Regions from separate parts of the Homo sapiens genome. Here region 1 is linked to region 2. The links are contacts of gene promoters, found by promoter capture Hi-C in human tissues and cell types (Jung and others, 2019). All regions are on one chromosome and are shown on one strand. The core of a region is centred on a gene start or on the middle of the fragment in contact, and the rest is flanking DNA. Distances in the headings are between cores, read along the strand shown. Region 1 overlaps CACNA1S (calcium voltage-gated channel subunit alpha1 S). Region 2 holds the start of CACNA1S (calcium voltage-gated channel subunit alpha1 S).

The links. Contacts are between HindIII fragments. The study calls those that stand out against the background at their distance.
Region 1: a contact is called between a fragment that was not itself captured here and the fragment with the promoter of CACNA1S in region 2, in 4 of the 25 tissues and cell types used here (H1 embryonic stem cells, lymphoblastoid cells, mesendoderm cells and 1 more).

The regions. Positions count from the first base shown.
Region 1 is chr1:201,041,302-201,045,362 of GRCh38, forward strand. CACNA1S (calcium voltage-gated channel subunit alpha1 S) reads right to left here. Exons shown (of 44, transcript NM_000069.3): 39 at 3,027-3,155; 40 at 1,980-2,230; 41 at 203-288. Among named protein-coding and RNA genes, the nearest start is that of KIF21B, 20 kb to the left of the region's middle. The HindIII fragment of the contact is 6,224 bases long and covers 1-4,061 here.
Region 2 is chr1:201,110,691-201,114,911 of GRCh38, forward strand. CACNA1S (calcium voltage-gated channel subunit alpha1 S) reads right to left here and starts at 1,736. Exons shown (of 44, transcript NM_000069.3): 1 at 1,498-1,736. The coding sequence starts at 1,649. It overlaps ASCL5 (achaete-scute family bHLH transcription factor 5), which reads right to left. Exons shown (of 2, transcript NM_001270601.2): 2 at 3,253-4,221. The coding sequence ends at 4,062. RefSeq lists a silencer at 3,863-3,912. The HindIII fragment of the contact is 14,734 bases long and covers 1-4,221 here.

The sequences.
Region 1 (4,061 bases), core at 82-2,581, 70 kb before region 2:
ACCTAGATGGTGCCCTGCTTCCCCCCTGGACAAGTAGCTGGTCCTGATGGTTTTCCCATTCCAGGGCCCAGATGACTGCCATTGTAACAGGCTCCCAAGCCAGCCCTCCCAGCCAAGTTCCCAGACTCTAAGAAAAGAGTGGGGCTTCCCGGACTCCTCTGGGAGAAGACTCAAGCTTCTTAGATGCACAGAAGGGACTGACCCAGGACCCTGCAGGGTTGGCCAAGGGCTCGTCCTCTGGTAGCAGGCGTCTCTGTCTCTTCTGGGAACTCCCTTTCATAGTGGACACTGAAATGGAAGCAAGGCTGGGTGAACCAGAGAAGGCTGCTAGCTCTCTCGGCATCCCTGCCTCTCTGGCCCCAAACATCCTTTTCCCTCAGAGCCTGTACAAGGCCAACCTAGTGTAGCAGCCGTGACTCTAGGGCTGACGTTTCCACCACTGTGCCCCAGCCAGCCCTGACTCTCTAGGAGGAAGGAGTCCAGAGCATTCCTGACTCCACTCCTTTGCTCAGTTGCTCCCTCTACCCTTTCTACATTCTGTTCATCTTCCAAGGCCCAGCTGCAGCCTCCCAGCCTTTGGAACCCTGCTTCTCCATCTTGGCCACACATAGGATCACCTGAGGAGCTCAAAGGTGAGTGGTGGCTGAGTCCCACACCCAGCATCTGTGGTGAGGCCCAGGCATTGGGATTTGCAGAAGCTCCCTGGATTATCTAATGCACAGCCAAGGCTGAGAACCATTCTAGGTCTTTCCAGCCCATGGTGATCCATACCCCCTCTGCACTCTCAGGACACTAAATATCTGTTATTATTTGGTGTTTTTTGTTTATTTGTTTTGTTTTGTTTTGTTTTTTTGAGACGGAGTCTTGTTCTCTCACCCAGGCTGGAGTGCAGTGGCACAATCAGCTCACTGCAACCTCCACTTCTTGAGTTCAAGAGATTCTTCTGCCTCAGCCTCCCGAGTAGCTGAGATTTCAGGCATGCGCCACCACACCTGACTAATTTTTTGTGTGTTTTTAGTAGAGACACGGTTTCTCCATGTTGGCCAGGCAGGTCTCGAACTCCTGACCTCAAGTGATCCACCTGCCTAGGCCTCCCAAAGTGCTGGGATTACAGGCATGAGCCACCACTCCTGGCCTCTGTGATTATTTGGTCCCAATCATATCACATAACATATCACCCAACAAGACGACAACCCCCTTCAGGGCAGGGCCCAGGGCTGATGCTTCTGTATTTCCACGTTACCTTGCACCATGGTGACCCAAAAAGGTACATGCACCCTTCAAGGCTTGTGGGCTGAATTTAAGGGGTCTCTGTGACTGGAAGGGGTGCAGGCAGCCCTGGCCATGAAAAGGGGCTGGCTGCTGCCTTGTTCTGCTTATTCCTGAGGCCTGGGGCTAAGCCTTTCCAGGCCGAAGAGGCCTCCAATCAGCTGACCTCCTGTCTAGAACAGAAGCTTTGCCTGAGCCTAGCCCCTAAGTTATGATTGCTGAGAAGTTCTCCCCCTCATCCTGCTGTTTTTTATGACACTTACGTAATCACAGATTATATTTAGTCTACAGCCCAAGGTTGGTGAGATGGGAACCACCCAGCACAGCGGGATCTCCTTGGAACCTAAATCCAGTGATGGAATCTTATTGTCCACAGTCTTTTGTGGTATGTGCTACCACCGAAGATCCTCTCCTAACCTATCATGTGTTCAATACGTCTCAGCTCCTAGACTTGCTGAAGCCGACGGAATAAAAGAACCTCTCAACACTGGGGCCAATACTGACATGATGTGAGGCTTCCCCCTGCTGGCCAAAGAAGCCTCTGCCATCGAGGTCGGCCTCTTACATTAAGGTTCAGGATGGATTGGGGCACAAAGGCAAGCAAAAGACACCCTACAAATTTGGGGTACCCTCTTCCAATCCAACCTGGAACCTGCTGACATTGTCCTCCCAGTACCTCTACACCCAGGGATGGCAGTGGCCGCCACTACCTGGAAAACACATGGCTGTTGCTATGGTTGCTGTTGCCATAGGCGACATTGGCGTTGGCATTGTTGGTATTGGCACGAGCCAGGGGGTTGGTGCGTGGATCTTGTGGGAAGTCCTCCAAGAAGACAGGTGACTCCATCTCTTCCATCTCTATCTCAGCAAACTGGAGGGGTCTCTGATTGGCCATGACGGGGGGCAGGGAGTTGGTCCTTTCCAGGAAGTTGTCCACCTGGCCAAACAGGCCTCCAGTCCTCTAGGGGCAAGGAGAAGAGCAGTGACTGGGGGTGAGGGCAGGGAGGGCATGGGGGGCTGTCACTCTGGGACAGTGGTATTGGGAACAAGCAATAGTATTGGGAGACAAATCTTATAAGGCCAAAGGAGGATGGACTGAGTGGTGAGATCAAAAGAAGAAAATTCCCACCCTTAGAAAGTTCTTTGTTTGATGGGGTAGACAGCACACACCTAAGGAGGTATATAGGGGACACAGGCACACAGAAGAGAAGTGTGGTGTAGGGGAGAGAGGGCTGAATCGGGAGTCTGCAGCACTGGGTTCTAGTCCCCGCTCTGAAACTGATTTACTAGGTGATATTGGACATCTCACATGATCTCTGTGGGCCACTATTTCCTCATGAATAACCCAAAAAGACCTAACTAGGTGTCATTAAAGACCTTCCAGCAATAAAGTGTTATAAGAAACATGAGACAGAGCTAAGGATGGAGGACTGGCCTCAGTGGAGGCAGGCAGGGCATTTGATCCTGGAGGGCCTCTGGGAGATGGGTCGTTGCCTAGGGTTTGTGGGGAGGAAAGGGAAGGGGTGAGATTTGGTAGGGAAATGTGGGAAAGAGTGTGTTGCATTTGACACCTCTAGTAGATCAGGTCATTGATTCTGAGTCCCAGGAGAGGTGGGTGGTGAAGTGGAGAGACGGAGTGGGGTATCTTCAGCTCCCATGTCCCCCTCTCGTGTGGCTGGGCTCCCAGCCCTCCTCTCTGTGAGACACTGCCACTCATGGTGTCTAGACCACTAGGGGTGCTCCTGGCTCTCCCTCACCCGGAATATTCCCTCCTCCATCGCAGCCTCCACCATGGCTCTCTCCAGCTCCTCCTCAGCAGCCAGGTCTCCTGAGACCGTGCGACAGATCTCGGGGGCTGCCTCTTCCTCAATGGTCCGCAGCCCTGCCTGGGGATGACGAAGGGACTCAGTTATCTCTCCAGCCCAGGAGAGGAGACCAGAACCACTTTTTCTTTTTTTGAGACAGAGTCTCACTCTGTTGCCCAGGCTGGAGTGCAGTGGCACAATCTGAGCTCACTGTAACCTCTGCTTCCCGGGTTCAAGTGATTCTCCTGCCTCAGCCTCCTGAGTAGCTGGGATTATAGGCATGTGCCACCACTCCCTGCTAATGCTTGTATTTTTAGTAGAGATGGGGTTTCACCATGTTGGCTAGGCTGGTCTCAAACTCCTGACCTTGTGATCCACCCACTTGGCCTCCCAAAGTGCTGGGATTACAGGCATGAGCCACCGTGCCTGGCTAGAACCGCTTCGTATGGCTTACTTGTTTCTTATCACTGTACCCAGGGCTCTCCCAAAGCCCCAGCCTAGGCCCCACTCTCCCTCTTGGGTTATTGAATATCTCAGGTACCTGAGAGGCCACCAGGTCCTGCTCTGGCCTCTGGGATAGCCCACACCTTAATTGTTCCAATTGAGTCATCTCTTGACCCCATGGGTGGAAATTTCATGCCCTTCCCAGGCTTCCAGGTTGAGAAGTGTTCTTACTCAGTACAGTCTTCTAGATTGGTGATCTTTATTGATTGGATATGTCATATATATATAGTTGAGCAAAGTTAATATCACCAGTAATGGGACAAGTCAAGACTGGTGTCACCTAATAGCTTGTAATGAGAACACAGAATCATTTCTGTGGCATTCTTATCCAAGATGCATATCCTAGTAATCAGACAAACCCCAACTGAGGGACATACTGACCTGCAGTCTTCAAGTGTCAAGATCGTGTCAAGGAAAGACTGATGAACTCTTCCAGATGGAAGAGATGAAAGAGATAAGGCAACTCAATGCACTGTCTGATTC
Region 2 (4,221 bases), core at 486-2,985:
GTTGATGCAGGGTAAGGTTGAGAACTCACTGAGTAGGACTGGGAAGGAGAGATGGAGAGATGAATGCTGAATTTCCAGAGCCATGTGCACATGCTGGTGTGCACGTGCTCACACCCATCACACCTCACCCCTCCCAGACACACCCACCCCGCCACAGCCATTTCCAGAGGGTACCCCAGGCCCATGGCTTTCTCGACTTTCTGGCCCATTAGGCAGCAAGTCTGGAAAGAGCTAGAGAAAGCAAGGGAGGAAGCGAGGGAGTTGTTTGGGGGTGGATGGGGAGGCATATTACGTAGTTGGGCTTGACAGAAAAATCCCATTCTCTTCCCAGTAACCTCCAGTGTTTGAGAAAAGAGGAGGGCCACAGGGGCAGGGCGCAGAGGAGCAGAGGATGGAGGAGAGGGAGAACCCACAGAGTAAACCTGATTGCAGAAGAGAGGCAAGGAGGGAGGGCCTAGGAGGGTTTGATGTGGGCGATATACCGCCTGGCCGAGAGCGGGTCAGGGGAACAGGGCTGACCCTGACCCCAAACTATCTCTACTTGCCCCACGTTTCTCTTGTCCTTCCAGTTATCCCTCATTCTCCTTCCTTCTAGGGAACAGCTGGTAGGAGCCCAGCCTTCCAGAACTCTTCAGAAATATTTCAAATATGCCCCACCCTCGCTCTCAGAACCCACTTGACACAGCCCTCCCCTTCTCTCTGTCACTCCTTCCTCCCTTCCCCAAATAACCCAGATATTTTCATCATTCTCCCCACCAGAGCAAATGCAAACATAGCATGAGTTTCAAAGTCCCTGTCCCCAGGGTGGCACGTCTGAGCTAGAACAACCAGGCTTGTTTGGCCTGTGTCTTGGAGCCACTGAGACCAGGTGTCTTTCAGATCCATTTCTCCCCTTGGCTCTGTCCTCAGCTGGGACCTGCCCCCAGAGGAAGCCTTCCTTCAGCTCACCTCTGTCCACTGTCACCCCCCACCCAACCCAAACAAGGGAGAGTTTTCTCAAAGAGGCCATCGCATCTTTTTTTGGTCCCTATCCTATTCTAAAATGAGGCTGGTGCTTCAAAAACCTAGTGGCACCCCATGATAATGTGGATTTGGGCACACATGGGAACAGTCCCCATGAAACAGGCCCCACCCATAGGTGGTCAGTAGGCATCTCTGGTTGTCATCCAGGACTTGGGTGGCCCACTCAGGCCCAGGAAGCCCCACCAAGTCCTCCTTCTCTTCCTCTTCCTCCTCCTCCTCTTCCTCCTCCTCCCCCACCCTCCTCCTCTTCCTCCTCCTCCCCCACCCTCCTCGTCTTCCTCCTCTTCCTCCTCCTCCTCTCCTGCTTAGCCGAGGGCTCCTTCCCCCAGCTCCTCACTCAATTCTGTGAGTTCACCCCATGTCTAAGTGCCAGGCCTCCCTGGCCCTCCTGTAGGAAGTTTGTGCTCTGTGATCACCCCGAATCCCTCCCTCATGACGCACACCCCCCCCCACGGCCCGGGCCCTGAAGGATACTTCCATTCTACAATGCTGATGCAGGCCTTCCTCAGGGGGTTCTCCAGGGTCAGGCAGAACAAGGCCCGGGGTGGCCTTGGCAGAATCTCAGGAACTGGCTTCTTGGGCTGTTTCTTCCTCAGGCCTTCATCCTGGGGTGAGGATGGCTCCATGGCTTCCCTGGGAATCTGGCTTTCTCCTGCTCCCCCACCCCAGTGCTTTCCCTTCCCTGTGTCCCCAATGCCCCCGCCTTGGGGACTAGGCTGGCTGAGGCTGTCGGCTGAGCCTGCCCTGCTGAGCCAGCCAGGGGGCGGGGGCAGGAGTGGGGGCAGGAGGATTACTCTCCTCGCTCCCAGCAAGTAAAATTAGCCTCCACTCGGCTCCCCGCTGCCGGGCCTGAGCTTCTGAGGCCAGGCAGCTGTCATTCCACCCAGCCCAGCCAGTGACTTCCCAATCTGTCCCCTGAGGAGGGTGGGGTGGGTCGGGGGAAGAACTTACACACAGGCCTGGGATGGGGCAGGGGCAGTGGGAGAGGGAGACAGGATGGAAGGTTTCAAGCCTGGGGCAACAGAGGTCAGGAATAGGTAGCCTTGGATATGGAACCTCAAACTGCAGAGTGGCCCCCTCATGCCAAAATTAGGCTTACCCCTCCTCAGCCCCATGACATTGTCTGGAGAAGGCACTGGGCAGCCTAAGTCAGGACAGCTCCACAGCAGCCCCTACCCATCTCAGTATCTGCACCATCAGCCAAAACTCCCCAAGCATACCCTCAACCCACCCCCACAAGCAATCCCATGTCAGAGAAACAGTAAACCCCTCTCCAGTGGGCTAGAAGGCTCCCAGAACAACCCTGAGTGTGCACACCTCTGGCATAGCACCTGCCTCACTGTGGAGCATCTGCTGTGTATCTTTCTTCCCCATCTCCTCCCATCCCTACAGGTGTAAAGGTTGTGTGCATTATCTCTGGGACTCTGGCCCCTTCTCTGCACAGTCCCCCTATGTACTATGCTCCCTGTAAATGTTCACTGAGGCCAGGCATGGTGGCTCACGCCTGTAATCCCAACACTTTGGGAGGCTGAGGTGGGAGAATGGCTTGAGCTCAGGACTTCAAGACCAGTCGGGGCAACGTAGTGAAACTCTGTCTCTACAAAAAATACAAAAATTAGCAGGGTATGGTGGTGTGTGTTTGTAGTCCCAGCTACTAGGGGGGCCAAGGTGGGAGGATCAGTTGAGCCTGGGAGGTTGAGGCTGCAATGAGCCAAGATCTGGCCACTGCACTCCAGCCTGGATGACAGAGTGAGACAGAGTGAGACCTTGTCTCAAAAAGAAAAGTTCATTGAGGATAGCCACGGTAATCCCAGCACTTTGGGAAACCAAGGTAGGTAGATAACTTGAGGTGAGGAATTCGAGACCAGCATGGCCAACATGGTGAAACCCGCATTCTACTAAAAATACCAAAGATTAGCGGGCGTGGTGGTGTGCACCTATAATCCCAGCTACTCTGGAGGCTGAGGCAGGAGAATTGCTCAAACCCAGGAGAAGGAGGTTGCAGTGAGCAGGGATTGAATCACTGCACTCCAGTCTGGGCAACAGAGCAAAACCTGTCTCAAAAAAAAAAAAAAAAAAAAAAAAATTCATTGAACGCCTGAGCTAACAACACTGAATCTTAAATGTGCTGAGCTAACAGCGAACCCCACATATCCTCCCAGCAAGTACTCTGGGCTGGGAGTGAGAATAAGAAAGGGGCACCAGGAAGGGTGAGGGTAGACAATGATCTAGGAATGAGAAAATTCAACAATCCTTTTATTTAGCTCTTTGGTGCCGACGCAGTGCCTATGTACCTATATGCACGCCCCCCTCCCCCAAGGCTTACAGTCTGAGGGAAAAAAACCACAGTCCCCACCCAACCTGGGACAAAACTAGACGACCTCATGGGGGGGATGCGGGGAGGGAGTAACCCCCCCTCCCAACCCAGGAAGCCAGAGAACGCCACCGGGGCACACAGGTCGCCTCTGCTGAGTCTGTAGGTTCGGTCTGGGCTGAGCGCCAGCAGCAATCTGGCCTCCCATCCCTTCCTCTGGGTTCCTTTCTCGAGGAGTAAGCGTGCTCCCAAAGAAGTCGCTAGTATCTGAGGCCATCTGGTGGAGAGCAGTGGCATGGTAACCGAGGGCTCAAAGTCGGGCTCGCATCCCGGGGACTCGCAGAGACTGGACTGCGCCTGCGGCAAGGAAGGACGGAGCAGAGCCACCTGAGGCCGAGCGGGAGCCAGACCCAGGGATGACCGTCCTGGGGAGCCCCTCTGCACCCCGGAGGGGACGCAGGACGCCCGGAGCAGTCCCAGGCCCTGCCCCTCGCTTCACCCACGGAGCTCCTAGGTCTCTATCGTGCCCATCGTACCCGCTGCCCTGCACTTCCGCCCCAAGCTGGTGGAGGAGGGAGGGTGTCGCAGACACGGGAGCGCCGCGGACCTCCTACAGTCACCGTCCTGCGGCGCATCGCGGGTGACCCAACAGCCTCCCGCTGCTCCCGAAAGTGGGACGGGGCCGGCGGATCATCCTCCAAGCCGGGGGCGGCCACAGGCCCGATCAATGCCAGGATTCCTCCGACTCCAAGAAAGGCGACGGGGAGAAGCAGGAGGACTCGGATGACTCCGGCACCAGGGAGGAGGGCGCCCGGGCCTCGCCGTCGCCAGGGCGGTCGGGACGGGGGGTGGCGGGCGGCGCGGGGCAGGGCCCGGTGCCCGGG